3 separate regions of the Homo sapiens genome follow, and regions 1 and 3 are each linked to region 2. Evidence: promoter capture Hi-C in 16 types of primary human blood cells and fetal thymus (Javierre and others, 2016). All regions are on one chromosome and are shown on one strand. Each heading gives the region's core, a stretch centred on a gene start or on the middle of the fragment in contact. The rest is flanking DNA. Distances are from core to core; before and after follow the strand shown.

Region 1 (2,846 bases), core at 138-2,637, 530 kb after region 2:
CTGCACATACCAAATTTTTATTCCAATTTTCAGAGTATCTTCTTTTATTTTTAGATGAATCTACGTTCTGTATTTACTGTAGAACAACAAAGGATTTTACAGCGTTATTATGAAAATGGAATGACAAATCAAAGTAAAAATTGCTTTCAGCTCATATTACAGTGTGCACAGGAGACTAAGCTGGACTTCAGTGTAGTCAGGGTAAGTATTGAGGTCTTACACTCAAATTTAAAGCTTCTTATTACAAGTGATATTTGCTTAATATGAGAAAAAATATTCAGGGTATGAAGTCACTAATTTTATAAACAGCTTCACTTCCCTGGTATAACAATACTATTTTAAAAATAAATAGGGCTAATCATTTAGTATGTATTTGTTTCTATAAATACCTTGAACACACAGAAACCCTTGCAGCGTAAACATCTTTTTAAAATCTTAGCTTTTTAAACTAATAAATACATTTAAGATTCATTGTTGATCTTATGCTCTTTAAACCCCAAATTAATGTAGATGTAATCCCCAAAAATAATATCAGTAAAACAGGCATTTACCAAGTGAATACTATATGTGACATATTTTTCATTGTATTTGAACTTTTCATCAGGCATTTGGTCTGCTTTATAAATACTTTCTCTTTCTAAATAAAATGCATGCAGTTTAATGGGTTAGCAAGTAAGGGACAAGGACTCTTAAGAGAATAAATTTTTCTTTATCACAATCATAGTTATTCAGTAGTAAAAATCAGAGCTGCTACATTCTTGAAAGGTAACGAGAAGGTGATTGAGAGGAGGCAAGAGATAAATCTAACAGAACTGGTCACGGATCTTATTGAATGCATAGGACCTTTTATGTCTGTTTGAAAATGTTACAAATCCTCTTAGCGTGAAACCTTAGTGATTGAAAGATTAGCAACTTTCTCCTGCTTGGCATTCATTAGGCTAATTTAGGAAAGAGAAAGGATGTCTGTTCTTAAGTTTAGTTTGCTTTCGATGTACCTTCAAAGACCCTAAAGATAAATATATTTTAATAAGAATAATCATTCAGAATATGTGTTTCTTAAAGACTAAAAGATTTATTCGCCTTCAAATAGGGAATTGTACCACCAATTCTAGACAAAAATATCCAGGATATCTGTTTCTTTTATTTTTTTCTTTTTTTTGAAACGGAGTTTCGCTCTTGTCGCCCAGGCTGAAGTGCAGTGGCCGGATCTCAGCTCACTGCAACCTCCCTCTCCCAGGTTCAAGCGATTCTCCTGCCTCAGCCTCCCGAGTAGCTGGAATTACAGGTGCCTGCCACCACGCCCGGCTAATTCTTTGTATTTTTAGTAAAGACGGGGTTTCGCCATGTTGGACAGGTTGGTCTCGAACTCCTGACCTCAGATGATCTGCCCGCCTCGACCTCCCAAAGTGTTGGGATCACAGGCGTGAGCCACCGCGCCCGGCCCAGGATATCTGTTTCTTATTTGCTGAGACCAATCATCATACTCAGATTTGTTTAAGAACCAGAAATATCTCCTATTAACAGCTCTAAACAGCTTATTTTAAATATCTTTACTAAGCCACAGAGGAAAATGTCTAATTGTATTAGAAAATGTAATATAAAATGGGTTGATGAGATTGCATTTAGTAAGTGCTACTTTTTTTTTTCCTGCAGTAATTTCCTCTGCTTTTTTTTTTCTTTTTTCTTGTCATTACCTTAAAATGAAAACGCTTGCCAGGCAGCTGCATTGTGAAAATCTTTCATATTGTGAAATCTTTCATATTTCCGATGTGTTATTGCAAACTTCTCATAACTTACTTGATTGTGATTGAATATTGAGAGTGTTGAAATACAGAGATTTATATTTATGCTCAAAATGGTGTGAAAATCTAAAACAAACAATGGGAATGAAATATATAATTTCTTAGAATGTAGATTATCAGTAAAATGTTACATGTTACAAGAAAGTGTAAAAAATGGATTCATTCCCTCCATTCCAATGTAAATTGTACAGAAATTCAGTCTTCTTTATCTAAATCCCAACACATATTTGATGGGTTTTCCAGTTAAAGGGCAAAAGGAATTTTTTTGTAGACTCATCACTCTACACCCCACCCCCCTCCCCAGATACTTTGCTAGAGTTATATGTTCTACTTGAAAGAGCTCTTTCTTTATTTTTACTAAGATAGTATTCATTGCATTTTTCTTTTAAAAAATCCTTAAGTCCCACTGTATTAAGAACTTGATCCCAATGTAAAGAAAACTTAAAAAGTTAAAACATCAAGCAAAAATAAATATACTGGTGTAAAAAAAACAAGAAAACAAAGAAGGAGATATAAAAAAAGGGAAAGAAGTTTAGAGACAGTGAATTTCTAAGAAAGAACTGAAACACAAATTTATGGACACTAAGGATTAATGACCCGAATTACTTTTCTTTCTTTTTTTTCCTATGAATATCACTTTATTAGTTCCTAACCCCAAATTCTCATCATATCAATTTCATTTGACCCATCTTATAAGATGTAACGTAAATGAGAATCATTTACATCTTATAAGCTTTGGTATATTTTGATAATAATTGATAATAACTGAACAAATTTTAGTAAAATTTAATTCAGCTTTTGGGAAGCCTCAGGCAATGTGTTTTCTTTATTTTCATTTTAAATGGAAATATTTCTTACATACTTTCCTACTTTCTTCAATTGAGAATGTGGAAAACAATTGAACCCTTACTTTTTGACTCAGGGTTTTCACTATGGAAATCAATTATTATACTGTGCCATAAAATAATAATACTCACAACTTGGTAAGGTATATGGAATTATTTTTTTCCTTAAAGGACCCCAGACTGCTATTTAGTAATTTCT
Region 2 (2,852 bases), core at 304-2,803:
CCCAGTACTTTGGGAGGCCCGGGGGGGGGGGGGGGTGAATCACGAGGTCAGGAGTTCGAGACCAGCGTGACCAACATGGTGAAACCCCGTCTCTACTAAAAAATAAAAATAAAAAAATTTAGCCGGGCATGGTTGGCATGCGCCTGTAGTCCCAGCTACTCAGGAGACTGAGGCAGGAGAATCGCCTGAACCCGGGAGGTGGAGGTTGCAGTGAGCTGAGATCGCGCCACTGCACTCAAGCCTGGGAGACAGAGAGAGACTCCGTCTCAAAAATAAAAAATAAAATAAAATAAAATAGACTGGGGAGATCAAGGACACTATTAAACAAGGCATTTTTGTGTTTTGCATATGGGGAGGCTGTACACAAATAGCTGCTGAATGAATGAATGAACTATAAATACAACTAGATAAGCATGGGAAAAGGCACTTTAGGCCCAGAGAAAGAGCACGTAAAAAAGCATGGCGGGGTCAAGCAAGCAGCTCAGTATCGACAGGAGGAGGGTTCCTGAGTGACAAGAGATGAGGCTGGAAAGTCTAGGTAAAATCAGATGTTCTAGACATAAGAGTATGGCCTGACCCCAGAGGGGAGATGATGACATGCCCATAAAATTTTTTAAATGCGGGGGGAGGCAAAAATCAAATTTGCATTTTGGTAGATGTACTCTGGCAACACAGAGGAAAACAGATTACATGAGAGCCAGGCTTGAGGTGGCAAGTTCAGGTAGGAGGTTGTTCAAATAACTCAGATGAAGTATGAGAACCAGAACTGTAGACGCTGCCGACTTAAAACTTCAGCGGAACTGAATTATTCATACTGTATCTCCTGCAAGCCTAACAGAATATTTTACAATTAAAACCCGCTACGTAAATATCTGTAGACTACCATTATTAAACACTACTTAGGGAACTGCAGCAAGCTGCCAGCTGAGTCACTCACTGTACACGGACTCCCAAGTAAAGGCACCTTTCCCAAGCGTAAAACTCGAAAGGAACAGGTTATTCGAGCACAGAAAGCAACAACACTATGTGTAAACCAGCGCACTGCTGAAAGACTATGGGACCTCTCTATCCTGGTCAGTTTCACCCCAAATGTTTCAACAAAGTCCTTCCATAGGGTCATGTGGCCTTGCCCTGTGCGCCGAGACAAATGCCAAGTTTATATATATATTTTTCTCTTTATTGCAGCTGAAGACCGAAACGTCTACTGCGGCTCGTCGCCTGGCCAGCCATTTTCACCCAGCCGTTTCCCAGTTTTGTACTGTGCCACTGTGTAAATCGACAACCACAGGGGATTGAGGGAGCAGCGTCCCAGGCTGATAAAACCCTAATGGGGAAAGGCAGGTGTCTTGAGGCTTCAAACGATAAAGATTGCAATTATCTCAAAACCCACCTCCACCCTGCCCCTTGTTTCAGGGCTCCTTCAGAAGTTAGTAGGATCCCTTTTACAGTTACCGGGATGCTATCGGCACCCACAGAAATTAAGCAAGTTGGTTTTCGCTTACCCTGATGGCCGCCATGTCTACAACCCTTTCGGCCAAGGTTTTCAGACGGAGAGCAGAGAGGGACAAATCAGTTCGACTAGGCTTCCCTTAGGACAGCCCCACCCCGTTACGCCCCTTGCCTGCCAGTTACCGCCTTTTCTCCGCCCTCCTCCAGCCGCCTTGGCAACTGCTGCGGTTTCGGTCAGCTGTCTTCTGGAGAAACTGTTCACCCCTGTGGTTGACCCTCCCGGTCCCAGATAAAGCCTTCCAGAACATTATCAATAGTCCAGTTGGGAGTTATTTTCCTGGGTGCAGAACTTTTAATTATTTTGTTTCGGGCATATGTGATATGTCCAGATAAGGACTTAATACCCAAATGTAGCTGCTTTAATAATTAATTATATAGTAAGAAAAACAACTTATTACCTCTGCGAAACATGGGTAAGTTCATTCATTCTAAAACTAAGTCACGGAGAGCATACTCTGTGCCGGGCAGTTGTTCGGGGCATAGACAAAACATAGTGGCTTCCTCACAGAGCTTATGATTACAGGAGTAAAAGAGACAAATGAGGCCGGCGCGGTGGCTCACGCCTGTAATCCTGGCACTTTGGGAGGCCGAGACGGGCGGATCACGAGGTCAGGAGATCGAGACCATCCTGGCTAACACGGTGAAACTCCGTCTCTACTAAAAGTACAAAAAAAATTAGCCGGGCGTAGTAGCGGGCGCCTGCAGTCCCAGCTACTCGGGAGGCTGAGGCAGGAGACTGGCGTGAACCCGGGAGGCGGAGCTTGCAGTAAGCGGAGATCGCGCCACTGCACTTCAGCCTGGGCGACAGAGCGAGACTCCGTCTCAAAAAAATAAATAAATAAATAAAAATAAATAATAAATTTTAAAAAAGAGACAAATGCTATGAAGGAAAATAAAACAGTATGGGAATGAGGTGGGAGTTTACTGGTTTATATCAATGAGAGAAAGACTCTGATAAGCTCATTTGATAAAAGTCCTGGAGGAATTTAGAGAAGAGGGTTGCATACGGAAGGAACAGCAATGAAAAAGTCCAGTGAGGCTGGAGCAATAATTTCAGAGGTAGCGAAGTAACACAGTGTAGGGGCTTTCGTGCCGCCAAAATAAATTTGGATTTTATGCTGAATAAGATGGGAAATCATTGGAGGATTTTGAGCAAAGGTGTGATGTGATCTAATTTACATTTTTAAAGGATGATTTTGGTGCTATCAGGAGAATATACTAAGGGTATATTGCAATATTCACAACAGGAGCAAGGTCTGCTGTAGGCCTCCCTGAAGGATTCTGAGGAAAGAAGATGCTCATAATATGCCCATTAACAGTCCCAATATTAATTCATGTATTCA
Region 3 (2,700 bases), core at 109-2,608, 670 kb after region 2:
AGATATTGTACAAGCTATGCTATGCCTTTTTTTAAAAGCTAAAGATAATTTAATCTGTCTCTCTCCTTTCTCTTTCTCCCTTTTCCTCTCTCTCCACCTCCTCATCCTGGCTGTTACTCTTCAGTGAAGGAAACAAATCATCATGCTATTTTTATCATTACATCATAGATGCCTGCTTTTAATTAGTTGTCAAGCTAAAGTTGTGCAGTGTGCAGTAAATATTGGAATTTTTAAAAATTGTGTTTGATTTTGGAATATGTCATATGCTGACATTTTACATTAGAAGTCACAAAGAGGCATGTGGAAACTTAAAAAAGAAAGCTATTCCTATCAATTGTATGTTTACTCGCATTAAAATAGACCACCATTACAGGAAGTAAATTTCCTGTCCCTGGAGGGTGCTGTTTAAGCAGTTCGCCTGCTTTGTTAGGGATATTGTAGAAAGACATTTTCTATTTTAAATAGTATTAATTTTTTTATTTAACAAGCAGTCATCAGTTAAAGGTAGAGGGAGGTGGCTCAGACACACACTATATGTAACACTGAGGAGCCAGTCAGTTATCAGAATTTATTCCAGATAACCTAGACTAGATAACCTAAACATTGAATGCATATTTTCTATGCATTGCTGAGTGTAGTAAGAATGATGTGATATATATTTGTAACTTCTCTACTTGTGTTACAGAAAATAGAAATTATTGATGATGAAGAAAGTGACATGATAAGTAATTCTGAAGTAGAACAAGTAAACTCTTTCTTGGATTATAAGGTAGGTAATTTTAAATTATGAATTTATTAAGAGAAGGTATTAAATGAGGCAGAATTTTACAATACCTATATTACTCCTATTTAATAAGTTAAGCATTCTAAGGCTCTGCATTAATTCTTTCTGGCTACTTGAATATCAGTCAGAGTGCTGGTTATTTTAATTATTGCTGTCGGGTTTAGGGGTTATGATCTTAGGCAAAGAGTTTGCTGAGTGGAGTAAGTATTGATGGTATATGGCAGGATGGAGGCAGTACTTGGTCATGGCCAACATGAAATGTATGACAAAGCTTTTATAAAGCCAATGTTCATTTTTAAATGATAGTAAAAGGGATTTCTTTTTCCAGTGGACTTTGCTAATTTTATCCTAAATTTTTACTTCTTCTGTGGACAATTTTTAAAAATATGATAATACAGCTGTTATAGGAGAAGTTTGCAAACAATTTCCAAAGCAAATACAGAATGAATATGAATACAGATGACCTTTTCTTAATGTCATTTATTACTAAATTGAAAAGCTGCCTTTGACAGGGTGCTATACATATTATTTTATTAAATATGTATATAAGATATCAGTCTGTATGTCAATATGTTTTCTGCATAGATTTATAAAAGCTGTCCCTTTGATAATCATTATCCTATCTTACTAGGTAACTTTGGGAACTTCTGAAATTTTGGCCACACAGTCCTTTTCATACACAAAAGTTCTTGTTATGGAATGTCATTAGTGTTCAAAGCAGAGATTAGTAATGTTAAAATGTTAACAGAAAATAACATTTAATCAGAAAATATAACAGCTGTCATTTCCTCAAAAATCTTTTCAGTTTTACCATAATTGAAATGTATGCCATCCAACAGATTCTGTTTTCCAAATATTCATAACATGTCAAGCTTTAAAATATTGAATATTGTAAACACAGAAGGAAAATATCTTTTGAAACGTATTTCCTAGATGGTCAAAGAACATGATGAAATCCTATATTTTGACTGTATTTTCAACTAACAGAATTATAAGTTTGTTGGTTCTGAAATACAAGAGATTACGATAATCTCTCCTACATGGTCATATAATATTTCTAAATGCCCAGTTCAGGATTTCAATGTCTCTGCATGCCACAGCTTGGCACAGGTTGTGGAAACTACAGACGAAAGGACTAGATTGCACAGCTGTTAAGAGTGCTCCTCTTAGCACTCTCAAATATGTCAAAGAGGGTTGGGCCCAGGACTCAGAGGATTCTTTCCAAGACCTCTCCCCTCTTGGGTGGCAGTCTCCTTGAAAAGGTTTGGCGCTAAAAACCAGAGGAGGGCAGGGCAGAGTGTCTAGTCCAGAAATGTTTGTTAATATTTTCACCGAACTCTCAAGAGCATTGTATTAATCCAGTGTTTTCCATTGTAATAAATTCTGTGGAAACAAAGGGGTCATTCACTACCCCATTAGGGATTTTTTAAATATGTTTTATGTAAGTGTCTCAGGCTTGGCAGTTCCATAAAGTTCTTTTTTTAATCCTCAAAATTCAGCACTTATATAGAAAATATATCTTTTTGTAATCATGATTTTAAAATTTTTCAACTCACCTCACATGAACTTTGTTACTTCTAAGGGAAAGGTAAGCAAAACCTCATATAGCAGTTCTTGTTACTGATTTCAGGATGTTGGTTTTAAAAAGCTCTACCAGTTTAGTAATTTATCTGTCTTCAGAGAAAATGTTGTACCCTAGTTATATACACATACTAGTGTTTCTTGTTTGGGGATGAAAACCACATTGTTGATATCTTAAGTACCATTATGCATCACTTAATGATGGGGATAAATTCTGAGAAATGCATTGTTAGGCAATTTTGTCATTGTGCAAAACATCATAGAGTGTACTTACACAAACCTAGATGTATATAGCCTACTACATACCTAGGGTATATGGTATAGCCTATTGCTTC

The links. Contacts are between HindIII fragments. The CHiCAGO score rates a contact against its expected background, and 5 or more counts as called.
Region 1: a fragment that was not itself captured here is called in contact with the fragment with the promoter of APOOL in region 2 in 1 of 17 cell types (monocytes); the score reaches 6.3 in monocytes.
Region 3: a fragment that was not itself captured here is called in contact with the fragment with the promoter of APOOL in region 2 in 1 of 17 cell types (monocytes); the score reaches 5.6 in monocytes.

What each region holds. Positions count from the first base shown.
Region 1 is chrX:84,472,606-84,475,451 of GRCh38, reverse strand. It overlaps HDX (highly divergent homeobox), which reads left to right. Exons shown (of 11, transcript NM_001177479.2): 3 at 55-201. The coding sequence starts at 55. Among named protein-coding and RNA genes, the nearest start is that of HDX, 28 kb to the left of the region's middle. The HindIII fragment of the contact is 2,301 bases long and covers 237-2,537 here.
Region 2 is chrX:85,002,578-85,005,429 of GRCh38, reverse strand. It overlaps APOOL (apolipoprotein O like), which reads right to left and starts at 1,553. Exons shown (of 9, transcript NM_198450.6): 1 at 1,503-1,553. The coding sequence starts at 1,517. The HindIII fragment of the contact is 4,827 bases long and covers 1-2,852 here.
Region 3 is chrX:84,331,828-84,334,527 of GRCh38, reverse strand. It overlaps HDX (highly divergent homeobox), which reads left to right. Exons shown (of 11, transcript NM_001177479.2): 9 at 686-769. Among named protein-coding and RNA genes, the nearest start is that of MIR548I4, 110 kb to the right of the region's middle. The HindIII fragment of the contact is 601 bases long and covers 1,058-1,658 here.